4 separate regions of the Homo sapiens genome follow, and regions 2, 3 and 4 are each linked to region 1. The links are contacts of gene promoters, found by promoter capture Hi-C in blood cells and fetal thymus (Javierre and others, 2016). All regions are on one chromosome and are shown on one strand. Each heading gives the region's core, a stretch centred on a gene start or on the middle of the fragment in contact. The rest is flanking DNA. Distances are from core to core; before and after follow the strand shown. Region 1 has its middle 5.4 kb from the start of KRT37. Region 2 holds the start of KRTAP4-12 (keratin associated protein 4-12). Region 3 holds the start of KRTAP4-6 (keratin associated protein 4-6). Region 4 holds the start of KRTAP4-4 (keratin associated protein 4-4).

The links. The method cuts DNA at HindIII sites, captures the fragments that hold promoters and counts their contacts. A CHiCAGO score of 5 or more calls a contact.
Region 2: the fragment with the promoter of KRTAP4-12 here is called in contact with a fragment that was not itself captured in region 1 in 6 of 17 cell types (activated CD4 T cells, naive CD8 T cells, naive CD4 T cells and 3 more); the score reaches 7.7 in activated CD4 T cells.
Region 3: the fragment with the promoter of KRTAP4-6 here is called in contact with a fragment that was not itself captured in region 1 in 5 of 17 cell types (non-activated CD4 T cells, activated CD4 T cells, total CD8 T cells and 2 more); the score reaches 6.9 in non-activated CD4 T cells.
Region 4: the fragment with the promoter of KRTAP4-4 here is called in contact with a fragment that was not itself captured in region 1 in 1 of 17 cell types (total CD8 T cells); the score reaches 7.2 in total CD8 T cells.

The regions. Positions count from the first base shown.
Region 1 is chr17:41,428,558-41,431,480 of GRCh38, forward strand. No RefSeq gene overlaps it. Among named protein-coding and RNA genes, the nearest start is that of KRT37, 5.4 kb to the left of the region's middle. The HindIII fragment of the contact is 2,088 bases long and covers 519-2,606 here.
Region 2 is chr17:41,122,642-41,125,564 of GRCh38, forward strand. It overlaps KRTAP4-12 (keratin associated protein 4-12), which reads right to left and starts at 1,541. Exons shown (of 1, transcript NM_031854.3): 1 at 450-1,541. The coding sequence starts at 1,481. The coding sequence ends at 876. RefSeq lists an enhancer at 668-1,221. The HindIII fragment of the contact is 5,176 bases long and covers 1-2,405 here.
Region 3 is chr17:41,139,170-41,142,092 of GRCh38, forward strand. KRTAP4-6 (keratin associated protein 4-6) reads right to left here and starts at 1,375. Exons shown (of 1, transcript NM_030976.2): 1 at 264-1,375. The coding sequence starts at 1,318. The coding sequence ends at 701. RefSeq lists an enhancer at 507-1,019. The HindIII fragment of the contact is 3,012 bases long and covers 1-1,799 here.
Region 4 is chr17:41,159,346-41,162,268 of GRCh38, forward strand. KRTAP4-4 (keratin associated protein 4-4) reads right to left here and starts at 1,403. Exons shown (of 1, transcript NM_032524.2): 1 at 304-1,403. The coding sequence starts at 1,346. The coding sequence ends at 846. The HindIII fragment of the contact is 13,067 bases long and covers 1-2,923 here.

The DNA.
Region 1 (2,923 bases), core at 313-2,812:
TGAGAAAAAGTTGAACATGCATCCCCGTGAAAACCACAAGGGAGTCAGGGGATGATGGTGTTGATGAAACCTGGGCTCTTGGAATTCTCTCAAGGAGAAATAAGGGGTCTGGAATTCTTCCCAAGAGGAAAACCCACTGTGGGTCAGCTGTGGCTCCAGCGGCCCTGAGGTCAGCTATGACTCATTCTTTACTGGGGCAATCCTTAGAGGGCCTCTCCCTGCCAGGCCATCCCTCAGAGGCCTCTGGGTGCAATCTGCATTTTCCATCTTCAAAGACCCCTTTGTTCCTATCTTCCGCCTCAACACATAGCATCACTATAATCCAGAGAATTGAAGCATTAAAATTCTTCCCTTTGATTTGCTAAATAGGAACCCTCTCTTGACCCTATCCTCTGGCAGGATTTTATCCCATTGGCTAAAATCATGGTTCCTTCTGTCTCAGAACATATGACACTTGTTAATTCTTAAGCATCACAGCTGAAGCTTTGCATCCTTTGCGTCCTGACACACCTCTCCAAAGCTTGATATGTGTCTCTGGCTTGGGCTCTGCATGGTCCATTTTGCATAATGACATAGACACTGCCTAGTCCTTCGTACAGCAGAGGGCTCTTCTGATTTTCTTTGGTCTCAAAGGAACAGGCAGTAGGTGGAAGGCATGAGGCAGGTGTCTGGGATGTACTCAGCTGTGTAGGTGGGAAGGAGCCCATCCTTGACATTGCAGATGATCAGATGAGCCTCCTCTTCCTCCCTTTTTTTTTTTTTTTTGAGACAGAGTCTCGCCCTATTACCCAGGCTGCAGTGCAATGCAATGCAATGGCATGATCTCGGCTCACTACGACCTCCACCTCCCGGGTTCAAACGATTCTCCTGCCTCAGCCTCCTTAGTAGCTGGGATTACAGGCACCCGCCACCACACCCAGCTAATTTTTGTATTTTTAGTAGAGATGGGGTTTCACCATGTTGGCCAGACTGGTCTTGAACTCCTGACCTCGTGATCCACCCACCTCAGCCTCCCAAAGTGCTGGGATTACAGGCATGAGCCACCGTGCCCGGCCCTCTTGCTCCTCTTTAAAAAGAGTTTCTGGCCCCTGAAAATAAACATATATTCCAAGTTGCATGAAGGGAGGTATCAGAGATGAAGAGAGAAGACAGAGGTAGTCCTGCAGCCCTCCTTCCTTCACAGGGGCCACCTCTTCTCTCTTGAGGATTAAAAGATTTTGAGCTGTAATCTCTCTTCAGGCAGAGGGGAAACACTGGGTTCAGAACAGCATCACTTGGTGCCACGGTGCAGACGCATCTCTGAGTCTGACCGTTCTGACGCATCTCTGAGTGAGACAGAAGCAGAGGCACTGGGCGGTCCACAGGGTGTGAGTCTAATCTGCAACCACCTGCTCCAGCTGCAGAGGAAAAATTCTGAAGACACCTAAGGAAACAGGAGCTGCCCACACACTGCATCCTGATGTGAATTACGCCAGGAAAACATCTGCAAACCACGACCAGCAGTGTGTCCTGATACCACTGTGCCTGCAAGGCTCTCAGACATGCTGGGTGAAAACAGAGTCTGAGGAAGGATAACCCAAAACACCTTTATCATTTCAAAAGTCCACCTCAGAAGGCTTTGAAAAAAAAAAAAAAGTCACCGTTTTCTTTTCTATTAAATAGGATTTTAAAATCTAGTTACTTGGGAAACTTTGGTTTGATTTTAAGTATTTTTAAATTATTATTCTGCTTTATTCTTTTTTTGTTTTTCTTTTCTTTTTAGATGGAGTTTTGCTCTTGTTGCCCAAGCTGGAGAGCAGTGGTCTGATCTTGGCTCACTGCAACCTCCGTCTCCTGGATTCAAGAGATTCTCCTGCCTCCGCCTCCTGAATAGCTGGGATTACAGGCGTACGCCACCACGTCCGGCTAATTTTTTGTATTTTTAGCAGAGATGGAGTTTCACCATGTTAGCCAGGCTGGTCTCCGACTCCTGACCTCAGGTGATCCACCCACCTCGGCCTCCCAAAGTGCTGGGATTACAGGAGTGAGCCACAGCGCCCTGCCTAGTTTGCTTTATTCTTATCCCAGGTCTTAAGGTCATCAGAGACTAAATACTGAAAAAGTTATCTTCATTTCCCCTCCCCTTTGTTCCCTGATCCTAGAGTTTCTTTATCTACATGCTAAGGCAGGAAATTTCCCCTTATTTACCTCATACCAAGACCTATTACAAAATCCTTTAATGCAGCATAGTAGAGGTTTAAGACAATGAATTTTGGATCCAGCCTGCCTGGGTTCAGATTCTGGTTCTATCATTTATTAGCTGTGTGAACTTGGGCTGGTGACTTGACCTCTCTGTGCCTCAAATTCTGCTTATGCACAATGGAGTGACAATAGCACCTAGCTAATGGATTTAAGTTTTAAAAAAATCCATACCTGTAAATCACGTAAAATAGTGTCTAGCACAGAGTACATGGTAAGCACTAAATAAGTGTTGTGTTTTTTAATGGATTTTACTGTTACTGGTGTGTTTACATGCTTACACCATTCATAATTCAAAAATGCTTATTAAATTACTTATTTTTTACTTATTTAAGTTAGCAAAGATCAGAAGTTTAGTCTTACTAAAAAGCTTTTGCACAGCAAAAGAAACAACAGAGTGAAAATACAACCTACTGAATGGGAGAAAGAATTGTAAATCATATATCTGATAAAGGGTTAGCCTCCAAAATATATAAGGAAGTCCTACAACTCAACTGTAAAAAATAATTTTTTTTAATTTAAAAATGGGCTAAGGATTTCTATAGACATTTCTCTAAAGTAGACGTACAAACGGCCATCAGGTATATGAAAAAATGCTCAAAGTCACTAGCCATAAGGGAAATGCAGATCAAAGCCATGAGACATCACTTCACACCACTCAGGATGGCTACTATCAAAAAAAAAA
Region 2 (2,923 bases), core at 291-2,790, 310 kb before region 1:
GGGGGGAGAGAGGGAGAGAGGAAGGGCTAAAAATGACCCACTGCTCAGTACCTGGTGACAGAATCATTTGTAGCCCAAACCTCAGCATCACACAACATGTAACAAATACGAATATGTACTCTTTGATTCTAAAATAAAAGTTGAAATTATTTTTTAAAAGATGATGAGTTGTGATCAATCTTTCAAAACGTTTCCCCTGTTGTTATATTCATGGATATTTCATGACTTCAGCTTCACTCTTTTTGTCTAAAGAATACAAAATGACTAATTGATTTGCCTAAGCCTGAAAAGACTTTTCTAGAAAAAAACTAGGCAGTGATCGATGTCAGTTGACCTCTGTTAGAAGGTTGACTAATCTGTGCTGTGAGCCCTACAGGTGTAGTTAAATGTAATCACCCAGGACCTAAATATAAAACCCTTTTTAAAAAGAGAATAAGAATCATATTCAATTTTCAGTGCCAATAGAATAGAGGTTTATTTTGGTACATGGAAATAACAAGGTACAAAAATGTTTGCAAAAGACTTTAAGAGAGAGACTTCACTGGACTTCAAGGTTGGAGGCTTTAAGATCTGTGGCCCTACAAATGATGGAGGCAATCTTCAAATTCCTTAGGCATGATGAATAAATGTCCTGAAGTCAAAGAGGTGGGAGGATGTTGGAGGACAATTTGTCAATTTATTAGGAGATTGTCAATGAATTCCTTTGGAAGGAAGGGAGTTTGGACAAAAGGTAGAATGCAAATACAGAATTTCTAAGGATGAGGTTTGCTTATGGGACCCAGATCAATTCTCTTGAACAGTCCGCATGTTTGCAATGAGAGCCTTCATCTGTAGGAAAGGACGTAATAAGGAAGTGGTGTGTTCACAGCAGAGATTTAGCAGCAAGAGGAGGCACAGCACAAGGGGCGGGGGCAGGTGGAGATGACACAGGTTGGGCGATAGCAAGTGGTGTGGCAGGAGACTCGGCCACAGACTGGACGCAGGCAGCAGCAGGGGCGGCAGCAGCTGGATTCACAGCAAGAGGGGCAGCAGCTGCTGGAGATGCAGCAGCTGGGGCGGCAGCAGGTGGGCTGGCAGCACACAGACTGGCAGCACTGGGGTCTGCAGCAGCTGGACACACAGCAGCTGGGGCGGCAGCAAGTGGTCCTGCAGCAGGTGGTCTGACAGCAGCTGGGGCGGCAGCAGGTGGGCTGGCAGCACACAGACTGGCAGCACTGGGGTCTGCAGCAGCTGGACACACAGCAGCTGGGGCGGCAGCAGGTGGTCCTACAGCAGGTGGTCTGACAGCAGCTGGGGCGGCAGCAGGTGGGCTGACAGCACACAGACTGGCAGCACTGGGGCCTGCAGCAGCTGGACACACAGCAGCTGGGGCGGCAGCAGGTGGTCCTGCAGCAGGTGGTCTGGCAGCAGCTGGGGCGGCAGCAGTTCTCCAGGCCACAGCCCTGGTCAGAGCACACAGAGCCACAACAGGAGTTGACCATGGTGTCAGAGGGTGGAGGTTCTCGGTGGGTTTCCAGGAGAGTGAGTGTTCTGAGTTTGATCTCTCCTTGTTCTCTCTTTTGCTTTTTATACCCTGCTGAGAACCACTATGACAATGTGAATAATCTTGTGGTTTGCACATTACTAATAGAGAATCAGTTGTTTTTTAGTAAATTAGATAGTTGTCCTTATCTGGTAAATATTTCTATAAATAGAAAAGGCAACATTTCCTTTTCCTGTTGTATTCTGAGCTATCCAATTTGGTTAAGCCAAGTGAATCAGCTCTCATTCTCCTTCCTTCATCTGATGTGTCTTCTGATGTGTAGACCCATTACATGACATTGTTTGATTGGATTTCATAAGTTAATTCTTTATTTATTTGACTCCTGGATAATAAGTTGAAAATAGATTTTATGATGACTAAATCTCCTCTGCTCTCAAAGAGGTTAAAAATAAATTACATAGAATGCTGGTAGGAAAATGTGATGAAAGATTCATCTTTGGGGGGTGATAGGAGGTAACTTGTGTATAATAAGGAACACTGTGATTCCTTTGAATTTTGTGGCTGGTCAGTGAGATATAAAAGATCCCACTGAAATTCCTGTTTCATGTTATTGACTCTATTTAGCTTGAAACAGATATAATGCAATGATTCATTGCTTTACAAGTAAAAATACATTGGCATGATAGGTCCCTTTATAAATTATTGTTGGCATGTTCTTCAGAGATGGGGATCATAAGGAACATTTTTGTTCTATTTTGTTGGTAAGTCAAGATACCCACTGAATGTGTTTAACTGAAGTGTTATTGAAAGTAGATTTTCTCATACTCGAAAGCTGCTTTTTCTCACAATGTATGTTGGAGATATTTTGCTTGATACATGGAGAAAAGAAACAAAGGATCAAGTTTAATTTCTGTCCTACAGAAGCTTAAACAAGACAAATAAGAAACATGTATAGGAAAGAATTTAGCAACTATTTAGAGAATGGTGTGATTAGTGAACAAAATAACAATTATGTATTTAATCTGTACACTTCCAATGAAAGATGAAACAATACTAATAGTTATAATTTTTTGAGTGCTTACTATGTGTCAGGAATTTTCTGAGTCCTCTATAATTGTTATCTTGTTTATACTTCACAAGGATTCTGCTATGTAGACACAATTTTTCTAAATTCTTTACATCCAAGGTACTTGAGGCCCAGATAGATTGAAGTCACACAGTCTGTAACAGGGAAAGGGCGTCTCTCCTAGAGTGTTCAAGGAACATTTTGCGCATGAACATTTTGCAATTAAATCCCTCCTGATATTTAAAAACAATTATTTATAATTAAAAAGATGCAAGGTATGTTCTCACTCCTAAGTGGGAGTTGAACAATGAGATCACATGGACACAGGGAGGGGAACATCACACACTGGAGCCTGTCGGGGGTGAGGGACAAGG
Region 3 (2,923 bases), core at 125-2,624, 290 kb before region 1:
GGAAAGATACACTTTCAAAAATATTTAAGAAAATTTAGCTGTGGGATATAACCCTTCTCCATATTCATAAAAAAACTTAACTTAAAATCTTTATTTTTTTCAATACTTTTGGAAACATCCATGTATTGCCTTTTTTTTAGGTCATTACATGTTGCAATTTTCTTGAAGGTGAGAGCAAGAATAGGATTCGTTCAGTTGTGTTTTGGGTGGAATTTCTCAGGAACTAAGGACAATCATTACAAAGCAACACAAAAAGAACATTGTATTTCTATGCGACAAAAGTGGAGTTTTATTCAGAAGCAGCAAAAATAAGATACAGAAACATTGCTGTAAAAGGAAATACAGGGTGAAACAATCAGACTTTCAAATCTGAGAGTGAGACAACCTTGCCCCGAGTTACCCTGCAAGAATTTCCATGTTTGGGACAGAAGAACTTGGTATCCATAAATACAAATATAAGGTATAAAATTTGGTAAATTCTATTAATTTCTTTCTGTAAATAATATCTAATTTCACACTTGGGTCAACATGGGGAACATATATTCTAGATGTATAGCCAGGACATATATCCTAGATATATGTCCAGGATATGGAAACACAGTTGGTGGGAATGGCCTCTTCTGAGTTGTTTATGAGATGCACAAGGTCTGCTTCTGTGAGGAGTGAGCTGAAGGGGAGGAGATAGTTTCAGGCAAGGAGCTCAGCAGCAAGAGGAGGCACAGCACAAGGGACGGGGGCAGGTGGAAATGACACAGGTTGGGCGATAGCAAGTGGTGTGGCAGGAGACTCGGCCACAGACTGGACGCAGGCAGCAGCAGGGGCGGCAGCAGCACGGGCGGCAGCAGCTGGATTCACAGCAAGAGGGGCGGCAGCAGCTGGAGATGCAGCAGCTGGGACGGCAGCAGGTTGGCTGGCAGCACACAGACTGGCAGCACTGGGACCTGCAGCACCTGGACACACAGCAGCTGGGGCGACAGCAGCTGGAGATGCTGCAGCTGGGACGGCAGCAAGTGGGCTGGCAGCACACAGACTGGCAGCACTGGGGTCTGCAGCAGCTGGATACACAGCAGCTAGGGCGGCAGCAGGTGGTCCTGCAGCAGGTGGTCTGACAGCAGCTGGGACAGCAGCTGGGACGGCAGCAGGTGGGCTGGCAGCACACAGACTGGCAGCACTGGGGTCTGCAGCAGCTGGACACACAGCAGCTGGGGCGGCAGCAGGTGGTCCTGCAGCAGGTGGTCTGACAGCAGCTGGGGCGGCAGCAGGTCTCCAGGCCACAGCCCTGGTCAGAGCAGACGGAACCACAACAGGAGCTGACCATGGTGTCAGAGGGTAAAGGTTCTGGGTGGGTTTCCAAGAGAGTGAGTTTCGTGAGTTTGGGAGTCTCCTTGCTGCATGTCCCCTTTTATACCCAGCTGAGGAGCCTTTGTGATTATGAGAAGATTGTTTCCTTGTTTTTGTTTATATGACACAAATGCAATTACTAAATTATATTGTGTTTTTCTAGTAAAAAATCCCAATATATAGAAAATGATTATTTCCCTTTTCTCACCCTGGTGTTCCCACATGAGTCACCTCTTGTTTTCCTTTCCTTGGTTTCAGTGTCACATGACTTCAGTCTCTGGGTATCATGTGACATGGGAGGGCCACTGTCACTTGTCTGTTTCTCATCATGATATCGTTTTGGGAGAGCTTCTGATTGGGCTAAGATCTCTAGTGGAGAAATGCATGTGTCAATCAGCTGGAATGCTGACAGGAAAAAAAGAAAATATGCTCCTGTTTTTGAGTGTGAGAAATAAGGAAGCTTATGATTCATTGTATGTATTCTGGGTGGCCATTGAGCTAACTAAATTCCTAGGTCATTGCAAGCTGTGTTAATTCTCATCACTCTGGTGCACCTTGAAACAGTTAGTAGTGACTCACTGTTTCTAAGGAACAAAGCATCATCTGGGCTTGAGCTGCGTCTGTCTTCAAAAGTGTCCTACAGGCTGAAGTAGAGTAATGTGGATCATAGTTTTTGATCTGCCTTTTGAAATATCAAATGTGTAATGGTTATGCTTTATTGACATTTTGTTAAAATCTTTTTCATACATTTTGAGCTAAAACATCTAGCAGGGTTTTTTTTTAGTATCACTTATTTCTAAGATTTTTTAAGAAGCATTGAGAGGAATATAAAAGATATATTCTTTAACTTACAGGTACTTATGTAACTGTGGACCTCAATTTTAAAAATCACCCACTTTCTCTTCCTTTCCTCCCCTCTCACCTCTTCATTCCTTCCCTCTGCACACTCCCTTCTGGCAATACTATCTAATATCTTATCTAATTATATTCTTGCTTAAGAAATTCCAGAGGCTAATCTTGAAACAAACCAGGCACAGAGCCCTGAGGAATCCTCTCACTTAGGGGGAATCTTGAACAATTAATCCACCACCATTGGGCTGAAGTCAAAATAATGCCTCCCAAACCTCTGGACACCCAAGATAGCCATTGGAACAAGACATGCAGACTCAGCACCCTGCACCACCCCTGCATGTCTCCCATGCCAAGTTTCCCTTTCAAAACCCTATGGCAAATTTTAAAATTTAAGATGGCACTTTAGAATGCTAGTTCACTAGCTAAAGGATGTCAGTGAGATATATCTTGGGGTGAAATGTTTTTATTTCCTTCACTTAGCATTCTTCTAGTTATTCATTACCAGTTAGTTCAAATGCCATTTTTCTCCAATATCTTTCTTGGCCTCACACAAAGCAAGGTTATCCTCTGGTTTACTGGCTCTCCAACTAGAACTAACTTTCCTTTCACCAGCCCTTGCCTCTTATGTGTTGGCTTTCCAGCAGCAAGCAGCTGAACCTGGGTCCAGTTACATTTACACAGAAATTGCATTCATAACAAGTTTTTATTTTATTTATTTATGTATTTATTT
Region 4 (2,923 bases), core at 153-2,652, 270 kb before region 1:
CATGCTCCCAACTGGAGGAGAAATAACTAAAGCATGTGTTCACCAACTCTCACTCATTTGTTGAATACTATTCCAAGAGGCTTTAACTCTACAGTCCAGAGCTTGCTCCTTGGCTAGAGAAACTCTTCAAGAAGAGAGTTCCAGGTGCTTGCTCTAAGAAACCACCATTGTATATTAGAATAAAGTGTGCTGAGGAAATAGAGGTGGTGCCCCTGAAATTACATTCTGCAGAGAAGAACAACAGAAAAATTGACTGGTAATTGACCACACTCAAAAAAGAAAAATAATGAGACACAGTATCTGTATATTTCTATGCCTGAAAATTTATTTAAGATTTATTTAGATAAATATTTGTTTAAAATGGAATAGCTCCATATGAGAAATTATGGCAGAGAGCAAATATTTCAATTAAGATAGTTGACAGATTTCAGAGCAAATTACAACTTATGTTCATTTGGTAGAGAGGTAAAATGTGGGGGGAGCATATATTTGGAGGCCAGATTCAATCTAAGAATTGGTTGGAACTGAAGTTTTCCAACTAGCTTCCCATAACTCAGCTCATAGATGAGCTACATCAAGAATGCTGGTTGATGAGAATCTGGTGAGTCCAGATGACAGCCTCAGCAGCAAGAAGCACTAGAGCAGGTTGGGCGGCAGCACATGGTCTGGCAGCAGTTGGGGCGGCAGCAACTGGAGATGCAGCAGGAGAGCCTGCAGCAGCTGAAGCCACAGCAGGAGGAGCTACTGCTGCTAGAGATACTGCAGGAAGGCTGGCAGCAGCTGGAAATGCAATAGCTGGGGTGGCAGCAGGTGGTCCTGTAGCAGGTGGTTTGCCAGCAGATGGGCTAGCAGCATAGAGACTGGCCACAATGGGGCCTGTAGCACCTGGACACACAGCAGCTGGGGCGGCAGCAGGTGGTTCTGCAGCAGGTGGTCTGGCAGCACTGGGGTCTGCAGCAGCTGGACACACAGTAGCTGGGGCAGCAGCAGGTGGGCTGGCAGCACACAGACTGGCAGCACTGGGGCCTGCAGCAGCTGGGGCGGCAGCAGGTGGTCCTACAGCAGGTAGTCTGGCAGCATTGGGGTCTGCAGCAGGTGGGCTGGCAGCACACAGACTGGCAGCACTGGGGTCTGCAGCAGCTGGACACACAGCAGCTGGGGTGGCAGCAGGTGGTCCTGCAGCAGGTGGTCTGGCAGCACTGGGGTCTGCAGCAGCTGGACACACAGCAGCTGGGGCGGCAGCAGGTGGTCCTGCAGCAGGTGGTCTGGCAGTAGCTGGGACGGCAGCAGTTCTCTAGGCCACAGCCCTGGTCAGAGCACACAGAGCCACAACAGGAGTTGACCATGGTGTCAGAGGGTGGAGGTTCTGGGTGGGTTTCCAGGAAGGAGGGTTTGGAAGGCTTGGAAGTCTCCTTGCCCCAGATCCTCTTTTATACCCTGCTCAGGGCTGATGTCATCGGATGCAGCACTCTTTCCTTGTCATTGTTTGTTCTGATGAGCAGGCAATTATCAAATTAGGCAAGTTTGTTTTTCTGCTTAAATTTGTCAACATGGAGAAAAGCATTATTTCCTTCCCCTGGTGTGTTAGGATTCTTCAGGTCAGCTCTTCTTGAACAACCTCTTGTGTGCCTCTTGCTGCAGCTTCCTCCTTGAGCTGCCATGTGACATCTGCCTGCAGGTACCATGTGCTGCAGCCTCATTTTCCTTAATACATTATGTCTGACCTTGGGTGATTTTAATTCTTCTAGGCCCGTAATTTTCTTTTGGTGACTCAGGAGGAGAAAGCTGTGCTTTAATCTCATGGCATGTTTGTTATAGATCAAGTGAGCAATGAAGGTTTGAATGTGAAACAGGTGACCAGTGGCATGAAAACAAATACTATTAGGATATATTCCTTGCCACCTTCCATACAATGAATCATGACCCATTTTCTAGATGTTCTACTGGGGAAAGCAGAATTGTTTTAAGGTGGACATCTAAGTCATGAATTATCGATGCTTCTTTTTCTTGAGAAACAACACTCCAAAACTCAGTTTCAGGGCCTTTAGGGGAAATTGGCTACAGAGATCAGCTATACTAAAAGGTTCAGGTCCCTCCGCTCTCTGCTCTGAGGGGCTGATTTTCCTTCTGACTTTTCCTTCCTGTCTCTCTGGCTTTAACAATCACATTGAGTCATCTCCTCTATTTCTAAGGTTTACTTGCCAACCTAAGGTAAAGGACCCAGTGTCCTTGCTATATATATATAATATATATATATATATATAATATATATTATATATATACATATATATACTATATATAGTATACACACACACGTATATACACACTATATATAAATATACACACTATATATAAATATGCACACTATATATAAATATACACACATACACACACATATATGTGTGTGTATGTATGTGTGTGTATGTGTGCGTGTGTGTGTGTATATATATATATATATATATATATACACACACACACGCACACATACACACACATTATGTCTGACCTTGGGTGATTTTAATTCTTCTAGGCCCATAATTTTCTTTTGATGTATATGTATATATATATATACACTCACACACACACAGGTTTGGGGGAATATATATATTCTGCCAAAGGACCTTAGGAATATATATATATATTATACATATATAGATGGGTAGATAGAGAACCTTATATATAGGTAATATAGGAATATATATATTTACATATTTATGAATATATAATATATATTCTTCATATATGTTTGTATTTAATAGTATGTATAAATATATATATAATATATACAATAACATATTTAGAAATATATATATTTATATATATATGTATTTACCTTTATCTCCTAAGGCCCTTTACCTTAGGAATATTATGCACACACACACACACACACACTCAAACACACACACACACACACTCCCCCAAA